7 separate regions of the Homo sapiens genome follow, and all the other regions are linked to region 1. Evidence: promoter capture Hi-C in human tissues and cell types (Jung and others, 2019). All regions are on one chromosome and are shown on one strand. The core of a region is centred on a gene start or on the middle of the fragment in contact, and the rest is flanking DNA. Distances in the headings are between cores, read along the strand shown. Region 1 holds the start of FOXG1 (forkhead box G1). Region 2 has its middle 240 kb from the start of PRKD1. Region 3 has its middle 100 kb from the start of PRKD1. Region 4 has its middle 26 kb from the start of PRKD1. Region 5 overlaps LOC105370429 (a long non-coding RNA gene). Region 6 overlaps PRKD1 (protein kinase D1). Region 7 overlaps PRKD1 (protein kinase D1).

Region 1 (3,979 bases), core at 1-2,500:
TGCCCTTGCCCGGGTCGTCGTAGTGGCGCGGCACCTTCACGAAGCACTTGTTGAGGGACAGATTGTGGCGGATGGAGTTCTGCCAGCCCTGCTTGTTCTCGCGGTAGTAAGGGAAGTTCTTCATGATGAACTCGTAGATGCCGTTGAGCGTGAGCCGCTTCTCGGGGCTCTGCCGGATGGCCATCATGATGAGCGCGTTGTAGCTGAACGGCGGCTTCTCGTACTTGCCGTTCTTCTTCTCGCCCTCCTTGCCCCCCTCCCCGTCCTTGCCGCCCTCGCCCGCCCCCTTCTTCTCCTCCCCCCCGGCGCCGGCGCCCTTCTCCTTCTCGTCCGGCCCGACGGGCGCCAGCTCCCCCGGCCCGCCGCCCGGCTCGCCCTTGCCGCCCAGCCCGTCCGCTTTAGCCCCGTCCAGGGCGGCGGCCGGTGGTGGCGGTGGCGGCGGCGGGAGCAGCAGCTGCTGGGGGCCCTTGTCGTCGTCGGCGGCCGGGGCGCCCCGCGTCTGGGGGGGCTGCGGTGCCGGGGGCGGCGGCGGCGGCGGCTGCTGCTGCTGCGGCGGCGGCGGCGGTTGCGGGGCGGGCGGCGGCGGGTGGTGGTGATGGTGGTGGTGGTGGTGGTGGTGCTGGGGGTGGTGGCTGTTGTGGTGGCCGTGGCTCGCGTGGTGGTTGTCGTTCTGGACCGCCTCGGGCACCAGGCTGTTGATGCTGAACGAGGACTTGGGGATCATTTTCACCTCTTTCCTATCTCCCATGTCCAGCATCACCCAGTCGTCGGGGGGAAACGGCGGCGGCGGCGCGGGAGCGGGACAGCGGCGCGGCGGGCGGCGGCGACCGGTGGGTGCCGAACGGGGCGCGGGGGGCGCGGGCGGCAGCGGCGGCACTGAGCGCTCCGGCAGCAGCGCAGTTGGACCGCAGGCTCGGGCGCTGGCAAGTCATGTAGCAAAAGCAGCAACCACCCCTCAGGAATTAGAAAAAAAAAAAAAAAGGAAAAGAAAAAAGAAAGAAAGAAAAAAGAAACAACCACCGCCCCGGGGGTGAAGCTCCCTCGCTCCCAACTGTACTTCTTGGTCTCCCCCCCCACCCCCCGCTCCCCCCCCCGCTGCTTCCTCCTCCTCCTCCTCCTCTCGCAGCAGCAGTCACAGCAGCAGCAGCAGCAGCCCAAAGGGGGGGAGAGCCGGGCGGCGGGCGGGCGCGTCCCGGAGCGGCCGCGGCGAGGCTGGGGAGACAGCGATCGAGGCGGCTATAGCCACAATTAATTTTCCGAGCTACAGGCGCACACTAGGGCTGTAAAAAAATTTTTGGTTTAACCTTTCCTACCGCTGGGCCAATCAGAGCTGGCGGCGTGCGGGAGCGTCTCTCTCGCCGTCGACCAATCGGAGGGGCCGGGCCCACCCACCCCCGCCCCGCCCGCCGGCTGCCGCCCCCTCGGGCGCTCGCCTCCCCCTCTCCGCGGGCCTCGGACCCCGAGGCCGCGCGGAGCCGCGTAGGGATACGCCGGCGGGAGCACGCGGTGCCGCAGCCCTTCCCTGCGCCCCCGCCACCCCCTCCACCCCGCCGGCTCCGCTCCACCGAAATTCCCCTCCTAGGGCCAATAGCTCACATTTCCGGCTTCCTCCTCATTGTACTGGGTCATTTTCGTTTAAGCGTCAATATTTGTCCTTAGTGATTAAAGTTTGTATCCAATTTTATTTTTGAAAGCGGGGGTGGTGGTGGTAGTGGGAAGAGTGGGAGTGCAGGGAGAGGATGCGAGAGGGCAGGAAATGGAGGAGGTAGAGGCGAGGCACTACTTTTCCGAGTCGGCCTTGCAGGCCAGTGTCTGGCATTTCTGAGCCAGCAGGAAAATTGTGCCCTTTGTAGGTAATAGTCTAGCGCAGCTTTGGATAAGGGGGGAGATAAGGCCCACCGCTGGCGTGTGTGCGGGGGTGTCCTTTACTTCGGGGGAGGAGGGTGTGGGAGAGCTTTGGGAGCGATGAGATGAGGAGGAGGAAGTGGGCAGAGGAGCGCGGGGCCAAACAGGGGTTACTTACTCGATTCCTGAGGCCTGGGCGGCGGCGAGCTCCGGGCTCCGGCACCGCGGGGAAACCGGGACTGGGGCTCCGGGTGCTGCTGCGGCGGCCGGGGCCGCTCAGTAGTGGGCGCCTCTGATGGCCTTCCGAAATGAGAGGTGCCCAGAGAGAAAACAGTACCAAACAATCTCGAAATAAATCAGGTAACACATGCTATATACGTGTGTCTCTTCCTTTTCCTTCTCTCCTGCTCCAGAGCGTCGCTCACGCGCGGGGTGACTCGATGTCGTTTTCTCCTCGCCGCTCCAGCCTCAGCTTCTAATCCGAATTGGAAGCGGGTAGCTGCGAGCGATCACCCTGGAAATATTTTCGTTTTGCTTGTTGACATTGGAGGGAAAATAAGGGTGGGCGTCTATTTCTTTCCGGTTTTTTTTTTAAGCCTTCCTATTTTCACTCCTTTTTTTTCCTTTCCGTTTCTCAAATGCTTTTATTTTGTGCGGGCCTCATTCCTGAAATAACAGTATACTGAAGCCAGCTCTTGCCAACCCTGAGTGCTGCTGGAAAGCACCGGGGAGCCTTGGGAACGTGGATCTCACAGTCCCAGCTTCTTGGGCTTTGGAACTGGGAAGGTTCGGTTGGAGGTTGAAGTGAATGGGGAAATTGCGAATCGGGGGCTTTAAAAGGATCCCGTGGCCAGGGGCAGGGCTAAGGCCCAGCATTTCCCAGGGATTGGAATTTAGTGGGGAGCACATTGATCAAAGGCTGTTTCATCCCACATGGGCACGAAACATACCACATTTTACGGAGGATGTAGCCCCAGAGAAGAGGGAGGTGGAGAAGCATAAATGAAAGGCACCTTTTCCTTCCTCTAGAAGGTAAATAATTATAAAATGTAAGCATTTCTTCACTTGGATAAACTTTCATTAAGATATCTGGCAGATTTGGTATTTAAGAAAACGAAGGAAGGAAAATTGGTGCTTATGCTTGATCCTAAAGTTAAATTGTAACATAAAGAATGCGGTTGATGAATACTCAGGATAATAGGGGGTTATTCCATCCTCCCCACCCCCAGTCTTAAGAAAGAGAAAGAGAGAAAAGGTTGGGGGGGGGGGAGGAAACTGGAGAGAATAATAGATAATTACAAATAGCTAGTGAATTTTAAATATGCATCTATTAGGAATGCCACAAAGGAGCTTTGAATATTGGACTAACCTCAAATGTCCTTCCACTGTATGTATGTATCTTTACCTATGTCTACATATCTTCTCACTTTAAAACAAACTGTATTTACATGTGGAAAAATTCAAGGGTTCCAACAATCAGTGTTGATAGTGACATGGTCCCAAACATTTATTTCCAAGCTCTGGATTTCTCGCAGGGCCGGGTGAGCTAATGGGCTTTGCCTACCGGCTGGAGAGATTTGTGGGCCTTCCCCTTCCTACTCACTTTTCCTCCTCCCACTCTTCTCCCCTCTTCAGGCCCGTTCTTCCTACTTTTCCTCAACTCTCCTTCCTCCCTCCTCCCTCCTTCTCCCTTAGCTCCCCCCGCCCCTTCCCCCCACCCTCCATTCCTCTGTCTCTCCATTCCTCCACCTACTCCTCCCAATTTCTCCTCTTACAGCCCCCCTTCTCACCACCACTTATAATGGCACACAGGGCTCCCTCTGAGGTGGACGGCCCGGTACGTTTTCGTAGTCGGTCTAGCGTGAAATGATTCGGTGTAACCGGATTCTTGGGAAAGGACAGGTTACGTAAACATTTACTGATGTGGAGTAACTATACTATTTGTACTCTGATATGCAGGAAGGAAAGTGTTGATTAACACAGAAGAAAAAAAAAACGAAATTAGCTGATTGCATGCTCATAAGTGCAAGCTGTCATTGAACTGCTTTTAAAATAGACACAGCTGGGTGTTTGTGTTGAAAAATTTCTTGTGTTTTTGCTAATACTGAAATAAGCATGATTTTGTATACCAAAC
Region 2 (3,979 bases), core at 673-3,172, 1.4 Mb before region 1:
CTGACTGGGAGATTGGTTACAGTACAACCCCTGTAAACCAACATATACACATACTAAAGTGCCACAGCTGGCCCTGTGGGACCCAAGTATATAGGAAAAGTTGACCTTCCATATGTGTGAATTTCTATCCGTGAATACTGTATTTTTGATCAGAGTCTGGCTGAAAAGAAATCCGAGTGTAAGGGGACCATGCAGTTTAAACCACTGTTGTTTAAGGGCCAACTGTGTGTTCTTTCCAAGCGTTGTGATATGGTTTGCATGTTTGTCCCTGCCTAAATTGCGTGTTGAATTATAACCCCCAATGCTGAAGGTGGGGCCTGGTGAGAGGTGTTTGGATCATAGGGGCAGATCCCTCATGGTTTGGTGCCATTCTTGCAATAGAGAGTACTCACAAGATTTGGTTGTTTAAGTGTGTGGCATCTCCTCCCACTCTCTTGCTCTTGCTCCCATTATTGCCATATGATGTTCCTCCTCCCCCTTTCCCTTACACCATGATTGGAAGCTTCCTGAGGCCTCACTAGGCAAATGTCACTATGCTTCCTGTACAACCTGTAGAACTGTGAGCCAATTAACCTTTTTTCTTTTTTTATTTTTATTTTATTTTTTTAATTTAAGTTTTAGGGTACATGTGCACAACGTGCAGGTTAGTTACATATGTATACATGTTCCATGTTGGGGAATTGAACAATGAGAACCTTTTTTCTTATAAACTATGCAGTCTCAGGTATTTATAGCAGTGCAAGAATAGCCTAACACAGAAAACTGGTACTGAAGAGAAGGGTGCTGCTATAAAGATACTTGAACATGTGAAAGCAACTGGGTAATGGGCAGAGGTTGACAGAGTTTGGAGGGATCAGTAGAAAGGAGGAAGAGGGAAAGTTTGGAATTTCTTAGAGACTGATTAAATGGTTATGACCAAAATACCAATAGTGATATGGACAGTGAAGGCAAGTCTGACAAAGTCTCAGATGGAAATGAGGAACTTATTGTGTATTGGAGTAAAGGTTATGCATGTTATGTCTTAGCAAAGAGCTTGACTGGATTGTGTTCAAGTCCTAGGGATCTGTGGAAGTTTGAACTTGAGAGTGATGACCTAGGATGTCTGGCAGAAGAAATTTCTAAGTAGCAAATTGTTCAAGTGTGTCGTGACTGCTTCTAACAGCCTACAGTCAGATGAAGGAGCAAAGAAATGATTTAAAGTTGGAACTTTTATCTGAAAGAGAAGCAAAGCATAAAAATTTGGAAAACTTGCAGGCTGGCCATGTGGCAGAGAAAGAAAATGGTTTTTGGGGAGAGGAATTCAAGCAGTCTGTGGAGCAACCAGTTGCTAGAGAAATTTGTATAACTAAAAAGAAGCCAAGTGCTGCTAGCTAAGACAATGGAAAATAGGCCTCGGAGGCATTTCTGAGATCTCCCAGGCAGCACTTCCCATTACAGACACAGAGGTCAAGGAGGGAAGAATGGTTTCATGGGCCAGACCCAGGGCTCTGCTGTCCTATGCCGCTTCAGGACACTTCTACCCACATCCAAGCCATTCTGGCTCCAGCCTCAGCTCAAAGGAGCTCAGATACAGCCAAGGCTGCCACTTTGGAGAATAGAAGCCATAAGCCTTGATGGCTTCCACATGGTGTTAAGCTTGTAGGTGCACAGAATGCAAAAATGAAGAATGCTTAGCAACCTAGGTTTCAGAAGATGTTTGAGAAAGCCTGGGTGCTCAGGCAGAAGGCTACTGCATGGGTGGAGCCTTCACAGAGAACCTATACTAGGGCAATGCCAAGGGAAAATGTGGGGCTGGAGCCCCCACAGAGTCCCCAATGGGACACTGCCTACTGGAGCTGTGAGAAGGGGGCCATCATCCTCCAGTCCTCAGAATGGTAGATCCACCAGCAGCTGCACCCTGCATCCAGAAAAGCCACAAGCATTAAACTCCAACCCATAAGAGCAGCCCTGGAGGCTGAACCCTGCAAAGCCACAGGGCAGAGCTGCCCAAGGCCTTAGGAGCCTACCCCTTGCACCAATGTGTCTTAGATGTGGGACATGGAGTCAAAGGAGATTATTTTGGAGCTTTAAATTTTAATGATTGTTCTGTTGGAATTTGAATGTGCATGGGGCCTGTAGCCCCTTTCTTTTGGCCAATTCCTCCCTTTTGGAATGGCAATGTTTATGCAATGTTCATACCTTCATTGTATCTTGGAAGTAAATAACTTGTTTTTATTTTATAGGCACATAGGTAGAAGAGACTTGCCTTGTCTCAGATGAGATTTTGGACGTTTGAATTAACACTGGAATGAGTTAAGACTTTCGGGGACTGTCAGGAAGGCATGATTGTATTTTGCAATGTGAGAAGAATATGTAATTTGAGAGGGACTAGGGACAGAATGATATAGTTTGGATCTGTATCCCCACCCAAATCATATGTTGAATTGTAATCCCCAATATTGGAGGTAGGGCCTGGTGGAAGGTGTTTTGATCATGGGAGTGGATGCCTCATGGCTTGGTGTTGTCTTTACAATAGGGAGTTAGTTCTCATGCGATCTGGTTGTTTAAAAGTGTGTGGCATCTGCCCCTCCACCTCTCTCCTTCTTCCTCCTGCTTTCACCATGTGATGTGCCTTCTCCCTCTTCACCTTCTGCAGTGATTGTAAGCTTTATGAGACATCCCCAGAAGTTGAGCAGATGCCAGCACCATACTGCCTGTAAAGCCTACAGAACTGTGACCCAATTAAACCTCTTTTCTTTATAAATTACCCAGTCTCAGGTTTTTCTTTATATCAATGCAAGAACAGCCTAATACACATTGTTTCTGGAAAAACCTTAAGCCTCTTTCCTTTACAGACTTAGACTTTTGCTTCTCAAGCAATTCTTTAAAAAATTCTTCAAAATATAGAAATATAAGTAATTGTTTCTGCTATCGATTTTATAAAAATTAGAAACTAAAAATCTGAGCTTTTACTTTTCATTTCAGCCATACTGGATGGTGGACATCTCTGACTCAATGGGCTGAGTGAGGAAAAGGTTATAGGGTAGTGGTATCTACAAAAATTTATCAGGCTGCAGGACTAGAATTTGAACACTGGCATAGTGACCTCAAAGGCTTCATATAACCACTATGTTATGTGCCCCTCAAGAGTTTATCCTTGTTTAAATAAATCCACTTTTCTCTCAATCAAAAAAAAGAAAGGAAAAATTTTTGGTTATTGAATCCCTCTAATGTGTGTTTGTGAAGTGGGGGGCATTAGATTTAGATGTAGTTACATATTTCTGTATTACTAGAAAAAAAATGGGTTCCTATGCAAAGCCAATTGCTAATTTTAGCCCTCTCTAAGAGTGGATTGAAAATGGGTCCTTGGCCTACTCTTTCTTCTCTGAAGGCATGGATAAAAGATTTTCCCTAATTATTAATACTGTGGGATCAATCAGATTTAAAGTATTTGAATACAGAAGGAAATAAATTAAGACAAAATTCTAGGGTGGTATTTCAGCTTACTTGTTAGAGTTCTAAATGACTCTAAATTTGTTGATCACTATTGGAAGCTTCATGATTCTTCCTATTTCTCAAGAGTGTCATACTGCGTAGAAACCATGTTGACTTACTGATTCATACCCTAAAGGCCCCAAAGAGTTAATTAACAGCTTCTAGAGGTGTGCGTCTTATTAATTAAACACTCACTTATCAGAACATTCAACAAAGCACTATGCAGGGCAACTAAGACCTACATCTCCTCAAACATTCTGAGATGGATAGCAGGGATTCACCATGCCCTACTTCTTAGATGACTGCTTATTTTTCGCCGAGTCTCATCACTTCTCTGCATTCAAAGTCTTTTCAGGTGAGGTTTTTTGAAAGTTAAAGTGAAATGACCATACAAACTTTATTGTTAATAGATGTTAGTCATACGTATAGAATGAGATTGAGAGAGAAATAAAGGAATAAATCAGTGTGTAGGTTCCTCACAGGGTGAACCTACCAGTATTCATGA
Region 3 (3,979 bases), core at 1,086-3,585, 1.3 Mb before region 1:
AGCAGTAGAAGCCTAGTGTACTATATGCCTATTGCCTGAAAGCTTACGTAACAGCTTACCTTAATAGCTCTGATGAACTAAGAGAAAACAATACTGAGAAAATCAGAAAACTTATATATTACCAATGTTCTATCATTGTTTTTATGTATGTCTGTATTTGAAATGTAAATAATTGTTTTATATATATACATGTTTAGGACAATAGTTCAGAGATAAACAGTTTTAAAATAAATCAGTTTCACTTGTTACTTAACACTCTTAGAGACACCGGAAATTACAATTACCTTCTTTTTTACCTAAAATTTGGTAGGAATGATGATGAAAATCTGCAAAGGTGGTTAAGCTTTCACGTGTAAGTCCTTGGCAATGGTGTGAATGTAGCTCCATTTTGCCACTGATGCCGCTTTTCACACCTTTGGGATTTGAAACAATGTAATGGGTACATGGCTGATCCAGTTTGAGGTAGTCTACTATTGAAGGTGAATGTTTTTTGTTTTTTGTGAGTTTTTTTTCTTTTTTTGCCATAATCATCTATGTTAGTTTTTACTTTAAAAATGAATACCTATTTCAACATCTTGCAGCCCATTCTTACACTAGGATCCAGCAACACTTTTTCATCACTTCTTTCCCAGTTCAAATGCTTTCAGTGGCCTCTCCCTAACATTATTTAGTCTATCAGTCAAGGTTCTTTATTATCTGAATTAAACTATATTTTCACTCTTCCAAAATACTTACAAATTAGTCTTTTTACAGTGGAGTGCTGTAATCAAGAAAACTATAGTCAAATATAGAGATGAAAAAAAAGCAGACAAGAAAAACAAGAACAAAAAGAAAGTTGAAATAGGCAAAAATAAACAATAACAGGGAAAACTGGCCAGCCATGTGCAGAAAATTAGAACTGGACCCCTTCCTTATACCTCATACAAAAATTAACTCAAAATGGATTAAAGACTTAAACGTAAAACTCAAAACTATAAAAACTTGGAAGAAAATCTAGGCAATACCATTTAGGATATAGGCACAGGCAAAGATTTCATGATGAAAACGACACAAGCAATTGCAACAAAGCAAAAATTGGCAAATGGGATCTAATTAAACCAAATAGCTTCTGCACAGCAAAAGAAGCTATCATCAGAGTGAGCAGACAACCTACAGGATGGGAGACAATTTTTGCAATCTATTCATCTGACAAAGGTCTAATATTTAGAGTCTACAAGGAACTTAAACAAATTTACAAGAACAAACAACCCCATTAAAATGTGGGTAAAGGATATGAACAGACACTTCTCAGAAGAAAACATTCAGGCAGCCAACAAACCTATGAAGAAAGCTCAACATCACTGATCATTAGAGAAATGCAAATCAAAACCACAATGAGGGCCGGGCGCGGTGGCTCATGCCTGTAATCCCAGCACTTTGGGATGCCAAGGTGATCGAATCACTTGAGGTCAAGAGTTTGAGACCAACCTGGCGAACATGGCAAAACTCCGTCTCTACTAAAAACACAAAAATTAGCCAGGCATTGTGGTGGGCACCTGTAATCCTAGCTACCCAGGAAGCTGAGGCTAGAGAATCACTTGAACACAGAAGGTGGAGACTGCAGTGAGCTGAGATCACACCACTACACTCCAGTGTGAGCAACAGAGTGAAACTCCATCTAAAAAAAAAAGCAAAAACAAAAACAAAAAAACACACACACAATGAGACACTGTCTCACACCCATCAGAATGGTGATTATTAAAAAGTCGAGAAACACCTGATGCTGGTGAGGTTGCAGAGAAAAAGCAACATTTTTACACTGTTGGTTGGATTGTAAATTAGTTCAACCATTGTGGAAAACAGTATGGAGATTACTCAAGGATCTAGAGGCAGAAATACCATTTAACCTAGCAATCCCATTACTGGGTATATACCCAAAGGAATATAAATCATTCTACTATAAAGGTAAATGTATGTGTATGTTAATTGCAGCACTGTTCACGACAGCAAAGACATAGAATCAACTCAAATGCCCATGAATGATAAACTGGATAAAGAAAATGTGGTACATACACACCATGGAATATTATGCAGCCATAAAAAGGAACAAGATCATATCCTTTGCAGAGACATGGATGGAGCTGGAAGTTTTTATCTTCAGCAAATGAACACAGGAACAGAAAACCATATACCACATGTTCTTACTTATAAGTGGGAGCTGAACGATGAGAACACATGGACACATGGTGGAGAATAACACACACTGGGGCCTACTGGGAGGTAGGGTGCAGGGAGGGAGAGCATCAGGAAGAATAGCTAATGGATGCTGGGCTTAATACCTAGGTGAGGGTTGATCTATGCAGCAAACCACCATGGCACACATTTACCTGTGAAACAAACCTGCATATGCTGCACATGTACCCTGGAACTTAAAAGTTGAAGGAAAAACAAAAAACAAAAACAAAAGAGAAATGTATCTTAATCCAGCTAAATATTAAATCACTTTAGAAGGTATCAGCAAAAGTTTGGTGTTTGAATATTGTATTAGGCCATTCTTGCATTCCTATAAAGAAATACTTGAGATTGGGTGATTTATAAAGAAAATAGGCTTAATTGGCTCATGGTTCTGCAGGCTCTACAGGAAGCATGGTACCAACATCTGCTAAGCTTCTGGGGAGGCCTCAGGAAATTAAGAATCATAGCAGAAGCTAGCAGGGGAAGCAGCTGCATCAGGAAGCAAAAGCAGGAGCAAGACAGAGTGTGTGGAGTGGGGAGGTGACACACACTTTTAAACAACCAGTCTCGTGTGAACTTGAAGTGAGAGCTCACTTATCACCAAGGAGATAGTCCAAGCCATTCATGAGGGATCATCCCCCATCATCCAAACACCTCCCACCCGGCCCCATCTTCAACACTGGAGAATACAATTCAACATGAGATTTGGGTGAGGACAAATATCCAAACTATATCAAATACGTTCAGTTAGGAGAAATGCAATGTAATTAATTAGACTCTCTTGAATTCTAATAGGATCCAAGGAACATAATTAGGCCTTTTCCTGACATTCAGGTGACATGGTCAGATGTAGGGTGGGTATATGCCATTCTGCATTTATTGTTATCCTTTCCACTGTTTTCTATGGAGTTATAAAGGATTCAGAGGGGAAGAGAAGCTATCCTTTTAGAACACTTAAGAGGAAGCCTTCTTTCTGGATTATTCTCACTTTTTTGGCTTAATTTCTTTATTTATTTTGAGAAAAGGTCTCACTCTGTTGTTCAAGCTGGAGTTCAGTGGCACAATCATGGCTCACTGCAGCCTCCACCCTCCAGGCTCAAGCGATCCTCCCACCTCAGCCTCCTGAGTAGCTGGGTCTAGAGGTGCATGCCACCATGCCCAGCTAATTTTTGTGTTTGTTGTTGTTGTTGTTGAGATGGGGTTTTGCCATGCTGCCTAGGCTGGTCTCGAGCTCCTGGGCTCAGGTGATCCACATGCCTCGGCCTCCCGAAGTGCTAAAATTATAGGTGTGAGCCATCATGCCTGGCCCCTTTTGCCTTTAAACAGTTATTTGCTGCTTAAATCTGTAGGACCAGTTTTTCATTGTGGAATCACCTCATCTCAAATTCCTGGATAGGCCTTGCTTTATTTTCACTCTCTAAAACTGACAATCAATTCAGTCCCACTCCTAGGAGGCAACTGAATAACAGTAGCACTTGCTGCTTATTATGTTTTAATCCTGACTTTATTTTAGGGGTAGTTCTACTAAAAATTCTGGATCTATATTCTTAGTTCTCAGCCTGAAAGTGCAGAGAAAACATCTAATTTACTTTTATAAAAATAACCCGCCAACCCATCTTGAGGAATGGGTTTATCTGATCTATTGATTTGATTGATTGATCACCAGTCATTTCCACACAGTAGGGGTTTGAGGGGATGGGAAACCAAAGAGGAAAATGTTGATGGGAGAAAGAAAGTGGAAAAAATTGGGAACGTGAGTTACTGC
Region 4 (3,979 bases), core at 605-3,104, 1.2 Mb before region 1:
TAAAGACACATGCACACGTATGTTTATTGCAGCACTATTCACAATAGCAAAGACTTGGAACCAATGCAAATGTCCATCAAATATAGACTGGATTAAGAAAATGTGGCACATATACACCATGGAATACTATGCAGCCATAATAAAGCATGAGTTCATGTCCTCTGTAAGTACATGGATGAAGCTGGAAACTATCATTTTCAGCAAACTATCGCAAGGACGGGAAACCAAACATTGCATGTTCTCACTCATAGGTGGAAATTGAACAATGAGAACACTTAGACACAGGGTGGGGAACATCACACCATGGGGCCTGTCGTGGGGTGGAGGTAGTGTGGAGGGATAGCATTAGGAGATATACCTAATATAAATGACAAGTTAATGGGTGCAGCACACCTACATGGCACATGTATACATATGTAACAAACCTGCACGTTGTGCACATGTACCTTAGAACTTAAAGTATAATAATAAAAAATAAGAAAAAAATTACTATACGTAAACGTTTTGCACATAGGTCACTTCTGAGTCATTGTCTTGCATGAATGTTTCTGACTGATGAAACCATAGCCACATTTCCACAACCTAGCTACTAGACTCTCTAGGACATGTGGGAGTTTTTAAGATGAAATCAACCTTGAGAAAGTAGAATTTAGAGTGTGGCAAAATATAAAAATGCAAAGTGGTTGTTCAAAATGTATTTGACAGGCAAACATAAATGAGTGATGTCTCTCTCAGCCCAACTTTTAGCTGACAAAATCATTATATATTCTTCTACCATATTAAATTTACAAAAGCATAGCAACAATACTATGTTCCAACCTTGTATAATATAAATATCAGTTATAATTAAAACACGCTTACTGTTTTCCAAATTCTCTTCAGTTACTTTATGAAGCTTCAAGCCTGACATCTGGGTAATGTCCATTTCTCCTCTGATTTATTCACAATTTTTTCTGGATATTTTCTAACCTATGGAAAAATATAATAATTATTAGAAAAGGTAGGGCATGGGAAATGTTAATCTATAGACATTTACATGATCACCAAGAAAGAAAAAGCAGGTGTCTACAGGTGTTATGGTTGGAATGTTCCCTCAAAAACTTATGTTGAAATTTAATTGCCATTGTGACAGTATTAAGAGGTAGGACCTTTAAGAGGTAAGTATGTCATAAGGGCTCTGCCTTCATCAATAAATTAATACCATTATCCAAGGAGTGGGTTGGTTATGGGTTCCTCCTCAAGAATTCTCAGCCTACTCTTCATTCAAGAAACTCTGTGTTGTGAATTGACTCGGAGCCATGGCGTGGAGGCACAATCCTGGAGTCTGTTTTCTAGGCTTACTTGCTGCTGCTGTTGTTGTTTGTTTATTTGTTTTTGTATTACTTATACAGATCAAGTGGGACCTTAATGGTTACACAACGTTTTCAGACCCAGGGACCCCCTAATCAATCAGCAAGGCAAAGTGTGTGTCAAACCACTCAGATTATCACAACGTGGTTAAGTGCTGCTAATGAGGCTCATATTAATGGCAGCATCTCCCACCTTTGTTTTCATCCTGTAGGGAATAGATACTGCACACTTTTCAAAGATGCTTGTATCTGTTTTTTATGGCTTTTAGAAATCATGTATTTTCCTTTTTCTGGACCCATATTTAAAGTATTGCTTCCATATACATTATATTTCATTTGTACTGCTTTCGTACCTTAAAATGCTTTCTCACATATATTCCTGCAGGTAGTTGCTAATATAACTTGGCAAAACATTGCTTTTCTTTTCCTTTGGTGGGTAAGCCTTTTCTTCCTGGGTTTAATTTTGCCCTAGCTTCTTGGAGCATTCTGGACTCTGACACTAGCTATGGGTCCAAGGCATTGCAAGGTGTCAGGAATGGGTTGTGAAGAAAGTTATACCACCTCCTGAGGTAACTGCCTCAGGCAACGTGCTTACATGGTTTTCAGGGAAGCAGGAACAACCGATTAAACCCTGGAGAAAAAGCTATTTCTTCTACTAAGGGATGTTTAGTAAATTTGAGTGTTCAAAGTACTCTGAGTTTTCAGGGTTTTCCCATCTGTCTCGATTACAATTCCATGGAAGTGTCTTAACTTTCAGTAAGAGTCATGGTACCGTTAGAATTCATCTGACGTAATTGAGAAACCACAGCATTAGACTGTGCATTTAATTTTCAGTTTCATCAGTCCTGCAGAGAGGAGAGCTAATTTTAGGGTAATCATGTTATCGCCCTGGCTTTTTTACTACATTGAGCTGAGAATTTAAAACTTTAAGGTGTTCTTTCCTTTCTTTCAAAGCTTAAGCACATTTAGAAGTAGCCAAGTCACCCTATAGCTCTTACGTGCTTCATGTCCATTGTACTTTTGTAAGCATAAACTCCCCTACTTCCTTGCCTTCTATAGTAACATTATTCCAGGTGACCAAGAGCACAGATGATAAATATAAGCAAGTGTTTCATTTTAGTATGCCATGGGTACCAGTGCTCTTTTCTCTAGAACGAATTGTATTCTCAGAGCTTTCAAATCCAACCTTCCAGATAATGAATCCCAGATACTCATTTCCTTGAAGGTTCCTTGCACTTTTAATACAAATTATTCTATTAAACAACCTTAGTTGCAAGGAAACCCATTCATTCCACCCAGATTAAGCAGAATAGATATTTATTAAAGATACTAGATAGCATGTATACTCATTGATTGTGCTAGGGTAATAAACAGGGTAAGCTCACCAGAACAATACCCATAGTCTATTGCCAATTTCTGAATTGCTTCGAAAACAGTCCCAAGGGAGAAGCTACCTGTGACACTGCCAACTCCACAGCCACCAGAAAAAAAAATGTGTGCTCTGCCAGAGCTTTTCCCTACTTGATCACTTCCAAATTGAAGACATAATGTAGGTGGAAATGATTATTGGAAACTGGTCCCTGCCTGTAATTCTGGGCACAAGAAAAGCTGGGAAATGCAGTTTTAAAATTGTATCTTGAGAAAACAGAATTTATCTTGTGGTAAATACAAAAATTCAGGTGGGTTTTCAAAAGATGTGCAGCCAAAAATGACAAATGTATACTACATATGGCTATTGTGTTTAAAATATTTCATAAAACTTGTGGAAATATTTTAATAATTATATCTGCCTTTATCTCATATATTTGTAACATAGAAATGGTTCTTAAATAAGTGGTATCATACTTTTAGCAAGGTAACCATAAGTATAATTTTACTAAGAAACATCTAGAGTCAAGATGTAATATTGTAAACAATATCCCTACAAGTACAGAGTCTACAGACATAATTGACATTTGATTATATCACTCTTATCTTTCAGACTTTATATTTGAAGGAAACTTCTAGGTGGCAACTGAATCAACAAATTCATCATTATTATTTTCAATCTGTTTGTATGAGTTATCAATTTAAGATGTACAGTTCTTCATTAAAATATAAATAGAGGATGTGTGTATTTTTTGAGCATGGCTTATTTGATCATATTTATAAGGAATTCAACATGACTGGAAAATCTACACATTCCACAGAGACTATATCTGTATGTGTGTGCACACACATATGCATATATTTTTTTAATATATATTGTTCATAAATGGAGAAAGCTGAACATAGCAGTCCTTTTATTCATTAGAACATAACAGGGCTGGGTGCAGTGGCTCACGCCTGTACTCCCAGCACTTTGGGAGGCTGAGGTGGGAGGATCACTTGAGGTCAGGAGTTCGAGACCAGCTTGGCCAATATGGCAAAAACCTGTCTCTACTAAAAATACAAAAACTAGTTGGGCATGATGGCGCACACCTGTAATCCCAGCTACTCGGTAGGCTGAGGCAGGAAAATTGCTTGAACCTGGGAGGCAGAGGTTGCAGTGAGCCGAGATTGCACCACTGCACTCCAGCTTGGGCAACAGAGTGAGACTCCATCTCAAAAAAAAAAAAGTTTTTTTTGACATTATTATTATGTCAAATAAT
Region 5 (3,979 bases), core at 1,025-3,524, 1.2 Mb before region 1:
TTCTTCTGCCTCAGTCTCCCAAGTAGCTGGGATTACAGGCGCTCACCACCATGCTCGGCTAAATTTTGCATTTTATTTATTTATTTATTTATTTATTTATTTATTTATTTATTTATTTATTTTGAGACGGAGTCTTGCTCTGTCACCCAGGCTGGAGTGCAGTGGCGCAATCTCGGCTCACTGCAAGCTCCGCCTCCTGGGTTTATGCCATTCTCCTCCCTCAGCCTCCTGAGTAGCTGGGACTACAGGCGCCTGCCACCACGCCCGGCTAATTTTTTTGTATTTTTAGTAGAGACGGGGTTTCACCGTGTTAGCCAGGATGGTCTCGATCTCCTGACCTCGTGATCCACCCACCTCAGCCTCCCAAAGTGCTGGGAAATTTGGCATTTTTAGTAGAGACAGGTTTTCACCATGTTGTCCAGGCTGGTCTCGAACTGGCCTCCCAAAGTGCTTGGATTACAGGTGTGAGCCATTGCGCCTGGCCAAATAAGTGATTTTTTAAAAGTCCAATTTGGAAGGTCAAATCTAGATGAACATGTATTGAAAGAAAAAATAAAGGAAGACCAAGACGTTCTGAGCATTGATAGAACTGCTGTTGCACAGACAAACCAACAAGCATTCAAATTCCATTATTGACACTTGTCGACTTTGACATTCAATCGGAGCAGCAAAGTGCAAAGGTTAGGGACCTTAGAATGTTCTTCTTCATCTAAAAGAGTAAGAAAAGTACATAGTCCTTTTCTTGAATACACTGTGAAACAAATCTAAAATGTTATGCTTTTTTCAGTTTTTGAGGACTTCAGTTTTCCTGGATACTCTAGATAACTGACTGATTAAACAAAACAAAATGTATTTATAAAAATACATATTATTATATTAATATGGAAAGACTTTATATAGTTAAAAAATATATATAAAATATTTAATTCATGAAGTAAATATTCTATTTATAGATATATGGAGCAGAGCTTTTTAGTTCAAATACATATGAGATCAAATAAGTAAATAATTAAATTTTTAAAAAGTAATGTAAGACAAAGAAGGTCAGTGTGCTTACAACATAAATAATTTTTAGGATTGTATGTTTGAGGATAAGAATTAGTAAAAAGAATGCAGATGATGATTAAATAAAATGTAATTTCAATTCCATGTAAATCATCTTATTTTAATTATGTAGACTTTTATCCTAGTGGAATATGTATATTATAGTAATAAGTGAATTTTAGAAATAATGCCATTTAAAATTTTTCTAAGCCAAGAAAAGCAAATTATTTTTTCTTAAGCTATTAAAAACTATTTTCCCCTGGTTATGTCACCAAGAAATAAATCTTCCAGATTCTTTCCCTTAAATATTTGTATTTTCCAAATCAAGCAACAGAAACCACACACAAGAAATTTCAGCTCAAAAATATTTTTTCCAGGAAGAAACCCAAAAAGTAACTTTGAATTAATTGTACCTCTATTCTGTTTTATTAACTTTTCAAAATTTAGTCATTGATTTTAGTAAAACATACTGAATGAAAAATGTAAAGTCTCATAAAATGACATGTATTAAAGAGAGTAAACTAGTTTATAGAATAATATCAACAAATGGGATATATTGATATTCATACTAGAAGATGTTTAGCTATGACACTCATCCAGTGAGAATGGAGGAAAGTTTGTATTTCTGGAACCAATGGGCCTTGAAAATAGGATTAGAAAAATTGCATCTTTATGAAAAACAAATGTGCTGCTGTTAATGGTTTCTGAATTTGAATGTTGGATTGACTTAGTAAAAGCCAATGTGCACAATTAGAGTTGGCAACTCTAAGCAATATAGCCTTCTGAGTATATTGAAGTTGAAGGAAAAAGTGTTAGACTGGTGATTTCATTCTGTTTTCTACAGGGAACCTGAGCAAATTTTATGATACCTTGGAGCCAGCAGATGTTAGTTCTTATGAGAATAGCAGAGTTTTTACTGTCTAGGATGGAATGATATTTAGGAAATCAAGTCTTACCAAAAAACATAACATAAAAATGTAAATGCAGGTAGGTATTTTGGATGTACATAAAAAGCATATGGTTAAAATCATCAACGTTTTGGACAAAAAATTTTGAAGTTTACTCATGCCTTTAAAAGTTAGAGAAATATAGCTTGAAGAAACCATTAGCAGCACTACTTTTTAAAACTTCTTTTAATAAAGATGTAATTCTTTTAATCCTATTTTCAAGGCCCATTGGTTCCACGGATACGAACTTTTCCTTCATTCTCCCTTCTTGTAACAACTTAAACACTGGTAGCTGGATTTATTCTTTCAGTCTGTTGATGAACATAAGCAGATAAAAATGTCCTCCAATAGTGAAGACAACCAAAATAGTTCAATTTTGGTTGAAATTCAGAAAAAACAAATATCTGTAATGTCCTCCTCCAATTTGAAGTTAGAAGAGCAAGTAATATAACAACATTTATTTTAGTTAACTCATGCCTGCTTTTAGGAACTACTTTTAATTCATAATTTTTCACGAACCATTTGTTTAAATAATCTGATTTAGAATGTTGCTGATTATTGATGCTAAACTCACTGGTCTACATTTTGAAATCTTTTTGAAAATCAAGACATTTGTTTCTCTCCAAGAATACTTTAAGATATTTGCAATACATCCATCAGTACAGTCTTGTGATTATTTGAATGCTCATCCCCTATTTAGATAATGTGTGACCATCTTTTCATTTATTTTGAGCTTCAGTTTTCTTTTAACCATTTTTTTACATCCTTTTATCTTGCTAGAGAAACCAAGCAAAATGGAGTTAGGCTTGTTTTCTCTGTTGTTTTAACATTATAGTAAGTAATGTGGCTGGCAGGAATGATGTTTGGACTAATATAGTTGATAATAGCTAGTATTTTGGGGTGATTAATAGCTAGTATTTGTGGCAGGCACTGTGTTATGTGCTTTTATATAAACTAAATCATTTAATGTTCACAACTCTTGAGTAGTGTAATTTTTTACTTTACCAATGAGGTGACTGTGGCTCCAGCCACAGTTAGTGGAGATGGTCAGGTAAGAAACCAGCCATCTCTCCTCTGAGCCACAACATTAATAAGTGGCAGATTTAGCATCAAAATTAGATCAGCCTTTTCCCCAGAGCTCATTCACATCCTACCACACTAAAGAATTTCAGATTTGTTAGCAATAGGAACTTTTATTTTCAAACAAATTTGTGGGACCCTGGTATATTAACAAATGAAAGGAGAGCTGCTTGGTTGAAAGTGAGGCAGGATGTCTAACTGTACCCATTAGGGCCTAGAGAGAACCCTAAGTCTTTCATAAGAAGTAGTTCATAAGCCCTTGTTCTATAACATAACATAAAATTCCCCAAGAGCATCGTTCATATATAACATGGAACTATTAAAGCTAATTGATTGTTTTTAGCTTATAATAATTTCTATTTACTCTTGTTCATATACCTATCTCTATTTTTGTTCATTTTCTTGGCCTGTTTGTACTTATCCAAAACTTGAGGTGTAGTCACACTGGTTTCTGCATTTATTCCTCACCTGGATCATTTATGATTTTATAGTTGAAAGCTTTTCTTCAAGGGCCTCCTGTCCTTTCAGGGTCTCTGACTCTAGGATCATACCTAGAAATTTGGTTTCTTTCTTTCTTTCTTTTTTTGTTTTTTTTGAGATGGAGTCTTGCTCTGTTGCCCAGGCTAGGGCATTGTCTTGGCTCACTGCAAACTCCGCCTCCTGGGTTCAAGTGATTCTCCTGCCTCAGCCTCCCAAGTAGCTGGGATTACTGGTGCCTGACACCACGCCCGGCTAATTTTTTGTATTTTTATTAGAGTCAGGGTTTCACCACGTTGGCCAGGTTGGTCTCAAACTCCTGACTTTGTGATCCACCTGCCTCCGCCTCCCAAAGTGCTAGGATTATAGGCATGAGCCACTGCGCCCGGCCGAAATTTGGTTTCTTAAAGAACAAATTAGTTTTTCTTCTT
Region 6 (3,979 bases), core at 767-3,266, 1.2 Mb before region 1:
CAAAACAAGACAAGTGCTTCCTTCCTTCCTTGTTTCCTTCCTTCCTTTTCTTTTCTTCTCTCTTTTCTTTTCTTTCTCCCCTTTCTTCCTTTTCTCTTTTCTTTTCTCCTTCCTTCCTTCCTTCTTTCCTTCCTTCCTTCCTTCCTTCCTTCCTTCCTTCCTTCCTTCCTTCCTTCCCTCCTTCCTTCCTACCTTCCTTCCTCTCTTTCTCTCTCTCTCTCTCTCTTTCTCAGGGTCTCACTTTAGTCACTCAGGCTGGAGTGCAGTGGCACCGTCTGAGCTCACTGCAGCCTCAACTTCCCAAGCTCAGGTGATTCTCCCACCTCAGCCTCCCGAGTAGCTGAGACTACAGATATGTGCCACCACGCCTGGATGATTTTCTGTATTTTTAGTAGAGACAGAGTTTTGCCATGTTGCCAGGATGGTCTTGAACTCCTGTGCTCAAGTGATGACCCACCTGCTTCGGCCTTCCAAAGTGCTAGGATTATAGGTATGAGCCACTGCGCTCAGCCTCATTTCCCTCTTTCTATTGATAGAATTTAGATACAAAGAAAATGGTGATTTTCCTTACAACTATTCAAAACATTTTTTAATCTATAAGAATATGAGATATTTCCCACAGGAATTCTTTTAATACTGTCAACCAAATATTTTTGTGCCATTAAAAACCAGTTGTGATAGCACCACTTGAAGTTATTTGGCAGCAGAGAAATTCACGTTGTTCTGTTTCTTACTTTTTCTGGTCTCATCTAGAAAAACAGATCATTAAATATACAGAGTGTTCAATTATATGGCCACTATGGCTGTTATGGAATATCATATAATTTAAATAGTTAAGAACTGGTACAAAAACAATGCATATTCAGACAAATTTCGGCTGTCTAAATCTACAGTTTCCTGTGTAGAAGTTTCTTCCAAAGTTATGAAAGGTTTTATTTGGCTTAAGCCAGACAATTGATATAGTAGCTTAGCAATGTTGGCAAACATGAAACTTAGATTTTAAAATATGCAATCACACAGGAATTTTGTTCAACTTATTTTGGTGAAAAGGAAAAAAATATACACCCTTCACTAGTTCATTGGCATCTATTCTGACTAAACCACTGATTGATGAGGAACTAGTGAATGTATTGCTTGTTTTTAGGCACAATTTCAGGAATTTCTGAATGCTTCTCTCCTTAATTGTCAGCAGCCACTTTTCCCCGCATATATTATAAAACAGTTGAAAAGTATTAATTTAGTAATGAAAATATGAATGAAAAGTATGAATGTGCATAATATATGGTGTTGTTGATAATTAGTTTGATTTTTTCCTACACTCAGTGTTCTTACAGTTAGGTGATTCTCTCAACCTGAGCAATTGCTCAGTGTAGGGTGAAAAGATTAAAGAGATTGCTTATTTGCAGTTATGTAAATATCCACAGTAATCATGAACATTTTTATTTTTCAGTTTGTTTGATTCCATAGCAATTCTGGTTAGGAGTGGCATGTTATACAGGCTTTTGCAAAAGTATTGACATTATTTCACACAATGTCTTGTACAGTCAGAGAGATTGGGGAGGAGAGGACTGAAGGGGCAGTTAAAAACTAGAAATAAAGAGTCAAGTGGTAAATTGAAAAGGCCAGAAAAGTGGAACATTAGATTAAAGGGTCACCACTTGTGTTACGGCAAGTATTTCAGCTACTGTGAGCAGGTGAACATTGAGATCTAATGGTTAGCACCATCTGAAAATATATTCAGAAGCTTCCTAATCAAATTGTACATATGGTACATATTTTTGGTGTCATTGGGGTCATAATAAGTGTTTTTCTTTTACATTTTTGTAAATTACTATTTGATATTTTCATAGTTCTGACTGTTTGAATTACCTGTCTCACGTTGAGTTCCCTTTGTAACACTGCAGGTGATCCTACAAGATTCTTTCTCCCTCCCCAGCATTATTAAGGTATAATTTACTAATAAAAATTATATATACTATGATATATAATGTTTTGGTACATGTATACATTGTGCAGTGATTAAATCAAGCTAATTAACATGTCCATCATCTCACAGACTTATCTTTTCTTGTGTGTGTGGTGAGAACATTTAAAATCTACAATCAGGCAATATATTTCCTGCTTTGAAAAAATCAATTTTGGGGTACTAGGCTTAGTACCTGGGTGACAAAATAATCTGTACAGCCCCCCCATGACACAAGTTTACCTATGTAACAAAACCGTACATGTACCCCAGAAACTAAAATAAAAGTTAAAAAAATCTATTTTTTACTTAAAAAATTATCTACAGGTATGTAGATTTGCTATAATCATACTCTTCAGTTCATAGCACATTTTTTTCATCAGTCCAAGTAAGGATCCTATTGCGTTATGTTTTATTTTGTTTCATTATTTATTTTCAACCAGGCATTGGAAGAACTGTGGTATAGGTATGAAGTATTGTATCTTGACAGTTGAAGCTTGTTTCAGTATACAAAGTTTTTCACAAGGTAATAGATGGTTAAGATAAAATTAAAAGGGTATTCAGCATTTTAAATAAAGAGCTGTATCTCTTTTCTTTTTCGTAAACAATAGAATAAAAAGAATCTGAATATAATTAAATTCTAACTTGATATGTCACAAACAGAAACGTATTTCTACATCAACTAAAATAATTTGTTCAAATATGAAATCCATGTATCATTACATGAGCCTGCTGTTTTTTTTGTAAATGGTTTAAGTTGACTTTTGACTAGGAATTTTTGCTTGAAATTTATTCACCGACATTTATGTTGATGTAAATTTCAAACTTTCTTAAGAATCAAAGCACTTTTCATTAATTATTAAGATTAATCTGTTAGGTTAAAGTGTTAATAAAAGTTTTTAAACTGTCAGTTTTGGCCATACCAAAAATACAGAGCCTTTTCCTAGGTTGTCTAAATCCATCATATTAATGACATAATAATTACAGGATGATTATGGAACTATTTCTTTGTTTTGGGTGAATGACTAGCTAGAAAGAGACTGGGGATTCAGTTCTAGTTCAGGTGCTAGAATTAAGTTCCAGAGACTTGATTGAATTAGGCCATTTATCAATAGTCAAATGTTTATTAAAGACACTCTTTCTTAAGCTTTTTATCAATTAAACATGAACATTTCCCCCCCTCCCTTCTAACTCCTCACATTGTTCAGAAATGGTGGTAGGCTTGTGTTCTGGTAGGGCCTCTTGGGTTAGACCAGGGAGTTCTTATCATTACAAAAAGTGGCTATGTCCTTTTCAGAGTGTTAGGAGATCATGGTTAGAATTTAGGGAGGAACACACTTAAGGGAGCATTTGGCAGAGGGACTAGGATGAGTTCGAAGACATTTCAGTGTGACTTCTTTGCCACGGGAAAAAGAGATTATTAGGGTGAGACTTGATACTATTTCTTAGCCTACAGAAAGGTGAGGTCTACTGTCCATTTTGAGACATCTATATAGTTCTGTGGTGCAAAGCTGGTATCATCTTTGCATTTAGCATCCTTGGAAGGCTTGGTCTGTGTCTCTAATATGGAAATCTGCAAGTAAGAACATGGGTGACCAAGAGTCGCAGTTATTTAGAGATTGGTTAGTGCTGTTAGATCCTCAGAACAGTAACACTAGAGGTTATGACCACTTGACCAAACAGCCGTAGCTTTTTCACCATTGTCAAAAGCAGGAAAGAGTTGGGGAATGGTGTCAGTTAATCTTTGGTGATGACTTTGAATCAGTGGTGGTGAATAGACCTGAAACAGTGACAACAGGCAAAGTCTGTGGGCTTCTGAGACTTATGGCACCTGAGGGCAGAAAAGAACATGACAGCAAAGCTCTGACCTTCCTGTGGCTAGAGCCAGAAGAAATGGCCACGCTAGATCACTCAGGAATAACAGTGGAAAGAGATCTTGGAGGTTGCTTTTTACAAGCGGAGTAGTCCTCTTTAGAAATTCCATGAGCATCACAGGTGAGAGCTCCAAAGAGCAAC
Region 7 (3,979 bases), core at 397-2,896, 1.0 Mb before region 1:
CTTACTTTCTTCACAAGTATTGCTATGCCCAGGTATTTGTGAGTTGCAAGTTTCCATATAGACAATGAAACTTGTCTTTTTGCCTGAGTTTTTCAACAATGCCATGTCTTGGCACTTAAGACATTTTAGAAATTTTCCTGACTGCCGCTGTCACTGAGATACAAAATTATTTCCTTCCCACTTTTGTTGACTTATTTATAATGGTCACCAAATTTTAGCATCCAGGGTGGAATTTCACAAGCACAAATTGTGCCAAGCTTTGGTCTTCGAAACTTTAAATAGTGAATACAATTATTCTCTATAAATATTTGTAACAACATTTGAGACAAGTTGATATGTGAAATGTTCACAGTGTTAACTAATGTTTGATAATAACACCAAAGCAGTATCTCATCCTCCCTACATCTACAGAATTATAGTATTAAAATTTGGACCTTCTGACCTTACATAAGATATTTCATTTTAACACAATTTCATATTCTAGTCTGTTCTTGAGATTAAAACTAACTTGTGTGCTAATTTTACTGTGACATAAATCTATAGAAAGGAAGTTCAATTATATATTAGCTAACATAATAATTTTGACTTTAAGTTTCATATTTTTATATTAGAACACGATTTTGTGTACTTTGAAGGAACTTTTAGTAATTTATTGCATTGGAGGGAAAATGCTGGCAGAGCTTCAGTTTTGTTGATCTATCACATGGGATTATATGTCATTTTTATAGAGTGAGAAATCAATTAAGTACACCTGAAAAATAGCTAAAATTAAAATGATTTACTGTACCCAATGTTGGTGAGTATCTGAAGGAACTGGAAGTTTCATACACTGCTGGTGAGAACATACAATACCACAATCACTTTGGAAAACAGTTCGGCAACTTTTAAGAAATATTAAACAAATACCTGTCATATATTCCAGCTATTCCAATCCTGAGTATGTACTTACTTAAGAGAAATTTACCATACCTTGGTGTGGTATATCTATCTATACTATGAATTATATACAAATGTCTATAATAGCTTTATTTGGAATAACTTAAAACTGAAAATAACTGACATGTGCATCAACAGATGGATGCACAAATTGTGGCATATCCATACAATAGGATATTATTTGGCAATAACAAGGGATGAAATACTGATATGTGCTACAACATGGGTGAATCTGAAAATAATTATGCTGAGTGAAAGACATTACACATAAAAAGAGTACATAATATTTTTAGAAAATTCTAGAAAGTGCAGTTTAATCTATGGTGAGGAAAAGCAGATCAGTGGTTGTCTGGAATTGACGGGTAGGAAACAGCTAAGGGAGAGAGTACGGAGGAATATGAGAGGTGATGCATTTGTTTCCTTGGGATGAAGGATATGTTCATTATCTGGTAATTTCAGTGTTACATTGATATGACAAAGTTTATCAAATTGCCTACTTTAAATATGTGTACTTTATGTCAACTTTACCTTGGTTAAGTAGTTTAAATAATTAAGGTAACACATATGAAAGCACCTATCATGTTGCTTGGGAATTGTAATGCATGTTATTACGTGGAAATGATAAAATGATGAGGTAGAGGGAAAATCAGAGACAGTTTCACTTTCCCTACAAGGAAAAAATGGTCAAACAATAGTTTTCTCTTTAGATGGGAAAATCTCTGTGTATATTTAAAGATTGGTTTATACACTGGTTCATATTTATTTTGTGTATGTATTTGTTGAAGTTTCCCCTACTGTCTTTTAGTCACCTGGTTTTCCACACATGTGAGTGAATACAATAGCAGACCATGGATTCTATAAGTGACTGGTAAGGCTAGGGCTCACTGAGGTCACCTAGACTGAAGAGGAGCTATGTTAGAACTTCATTTTACATGGTCTCACAGCATCCTGTACACCTCTGTAACACTTATGACTATCATAATCATGTAATGAATTACATAATTAGTAGATTAAGATCTACTCTTTAAAATGCAAGACTAACTTTTTTGTTGTTGTTCACCGGGCTTTGTGTATAGTTAAAGCTTACTACTGTTTGTTCTGTGAGTGAATGAATAAAATATCGTCATAATCTAATAGTTTTATGGTATGGGCAAGAAAGGCCCTGTGAAACAGTGATTCCAAGTTCTTTAGAAGGATGTATAGTTTAGAGATCATTATAAGCTTAAAAATTGAAGAAAACTTTACAGAAATATGAGCAATGAGATTAAAAACTAGCATAGACATTGGGAAATCATGATGTTGTAGATAGGTTAAGCCAAATTAAAAAATCCCGTGGGGCTGGCTAATTCCAGGGATTGTTAAACTCAGTCAATTGATTAATGCTTATATCAATAAGAGGGATCAACTCTTTCTTTATTCAAAAAGCAAAACTAAATAACTGGCAGTATTTATGGCACATGATCACTATGTTATTGAATAAATTATGAATCTTTTTTTTAGCTGGAATGATGAAATCTAAGTAATAATTAGACTGTGGGCGTGGTGGCTCACACTTGTAATCCCATAAACACTTATAAACACTTTGGGAGGCTGAGGCGGGCAGGTCACAAGGTCAAGAGATCGAGACCATCCTGGCCAAGGTGGTGAAACCTCATCTCTACTAAAAATACAAAAATTAGCTGGGCGTGGTGGCACGCACCTGTAGTCCAAGCTACTCAGGAGGCTCAGGCAGGAGAATCGCTTGAGCCCAGGAGGTGGAGGTTGCAGTGAGCTGAGATTGTGCCACTGCACTCCAGCCTGGCGACAGAGTGAGACTCCATCTCAAAAAAAAAAAAAAAAAAAAAAAGACAACTTGCTTGGTAATGCTTCTAACTAGTTTGCATCTTTATTATGAAATAAACAGTGAAAATGTGTTATCCAAGGGCCTGGGGATTGATCCACCTGGCTTGCTATCACTTGTGTCTGCATACACTATCAGGGAGCCTGAAGACAGGTCCACCTCACCTGCCATGGCTGACACTCATGTGTCATTTGGGTGCCTGGGAATTGACACACCTTACTCACTGGCACTACTGGCTGCACTTCCTGTCCGGGGGCCTGACAATATACCCACCCTTCTTGCTGCCACTGATATACATGCATGGTGTCTAGGGGTGTAAAGATGGGCCCATGTGCACTGGTGCTCATGTGCCTCCTGGGCACCCAGAGACTGGCCTGCCCAGCCTGCCACCATTGGCATTCACTTATAGGCACCACCTAGGTGCCTGGATACCAGCCTGCCAAGCCCACTACCAGCAGTCTCACGACAGCCCAAGCCACTGAGGAACTCACAGACACCACTAATGCTGATAGAGTCAAAGAAATTATAAACACACTATACCAACACAGCCACCCAGAATCAAAGCCTAAGCACTCAACCCAACCAGCACTATAGCTATATCTGTAGGAAAAAGTCTTCCCCCAAAAAGCCATCCATAAAATTGGAAGAAGTGAATGTTACATTAGATATGCAGATATCAAGATAAGGGCACAGAAAAATGAAAAAGCAAGGAAACGTGACACCTCCAAAGGTTCACAATAATTTTTCCATAACAGATACCCCAAAAAAGGAAATCTATGAAATGCCTAAAAGATAATTCCAAGTAACGATATCAAAGAAACTCAGTGAGGCTAGGCATGGTGGCTCATGTCTGTAATCTGAGCACTTTGGGATACTGAGGCAGGAACATCACTTGAGCTCAGGAATTAGAGACCAGTCTGGGCAACATATGAGACCCTGTCTCTACAAAAAATTTAAAAATTAGTCAGGCATAGTAGCGCACACCTATAGTCCCAGCTACTTGGGAAGCTGATGTGGGAGGATTGCTCGAGCCCAGGAGGTTGAGGCTGCAGTAAGCCATGATCACGCCACTGCACTCAAGCCTGAGTGATAGAGTGAGATCTTGTCTCAAAAATAAATAAATAAATAAATAAAAGAAAACAAAGAAACTCAGTGAGATATAGGAATACACTGATAAAAATACAAAGAGATCAAGAAAAGAAG

Evidence for each region. The method cuts DNA at HindIII sites, captures the fragments that hold promoters and counts their contacts. A contact is called where the count stands out against the background at its distance.
Region 2: a fragment that was not itself captured here is called in contact with the fragment with the promoter of FOXG1 in region 1 in 1 of the 25 tissues and cell types used here (dorsolateral prefrontal cortex).
Region 3: a contact is called between a fragment that was not itself captured here and the fragment with the promoter of FOXG1 in region 1, in 1 of the 25 tissues and cell types used here (dorsolateral prefrontal cortex).
Region 4: a contact is called between a fragment that was not itself captured here and the fragment with the promoter of FOXG1 in region 1, in 3 of the 25 tissues and cell types used here (dorsolateral prefrontal cortex, heart right ventricle and lymphoblastoid cells).
Region 5: a fragment that was not itself captured here is called in contact with the fragment with the promoter of FOXG1 in region 1 in 1 of the 25 tissues and cell types used here (mesendoderm cells).
Region 6: a fragment that was not itself captured here is called in contact with the fragment with the promoter of FOXG1 in region 1 in 1 of the 25 tissues and cell types used here (lymphoblastoid cells).
Region 7: a contact is called between a fragment that was not itself captured here and the fragment with the promoter of FOXG1 in region 1, in 1 of the 25 tissues and cell types used here (dorsolateral prefrontal cortex).

What each region holds. Positions count from the first base shown.
Region 1 is chr14:28,764,058-28,768,036 of GRCh38, reverse strand. FOXG1 (forkhead box G1) reads right to left here and starts at 1,250. Exons shown (of 1, transcript NM_005249.5): 1 at 1-1,250. The coding sequence starts at 757. It overlaps FOXG1-AS1 (FOXG1 antisense RNA 1), which reads left to right and starts at 2,718. Exons shown (of 7, transcript NR_125758.1): 1 at 2,718-2,877. RefSeq lists an enhancer at 1,595-2,119. The HindIII fragment of the contact is 7,501 bases long and covers 1-1,801 here.
Region 2 is chr14:30,166,601-30,170,579 of GRCh38, reverse strand. No RefSeq gene overlaps it. Among named protein-coding and RNA genes, the nearest start is that of PRKD1, 240 kb to the right of the region's middle. The HindIII fragment of the contact is 3,678 bases long and covers 84-3,761 here.
Region 3 is chr14:30,025,552-30,029,530 of GRCh38, reverse strand. No RefSeq gene overlaps it. Among named protein-coding and RNA genes, the nearest start is that of PRKD1, 100 kb to the right of the region's middle. The HindIII fragment of the contact is 4,284 bases long and covers 194-3,979 here.
Region 4 is chr14:29,951,875-29,955,853 of GRCh38, reverse strand. No RefSeq gene overlaps it. Among named protein-coding and RNA genes, the nearest start is that of PRKD1, 26 kb to the right of the region's middle. The HindIII fragment of the contact is 4,705 bases long and covers 1-3,979 here.
Region 5 is chr14:29,932,521-29,936,499 of GRCh38, reverse strand. LOC105370429 (a long non-coding RNA gene) reads right to left here. Exons shown (of 3, transcript XR_943703.2): 3 at 450-709. Among named protein-coding and RNA genes, the nearest start is that of PRKD1, 6.7 kb to the right of the region's middle. The HindIII fragment of the contact is 5,901 bases long and covers 1-3,979 here.
Region 6 is chr14:29,916,214-29,920,192 of GRCh38, reverse strand. The region is part of intron 1 of PRKD1 (protein kinase D1); the gene reads left to right. Among named protein-coding and RNA genes, the nearest start is that of PRKD1, 9.6 kb to the left of the region's middle. The HindIII fragment of the contact is 3,093 bases long and covers 470-3,562 here.
Region 7 is chr14:29,788,811-29,792,789 of GRCh38, reverse strand. All of the region lies in intron 1 of PRKD1 (protein kinase D1), which reads left to right. Among named protein-coding and RNA genes, the nearest start is that of PRKD1, 140 kb to the left of the region's middle. The HindIII fragment of the contact is 3,911 bases long and covers 1-3,601 here.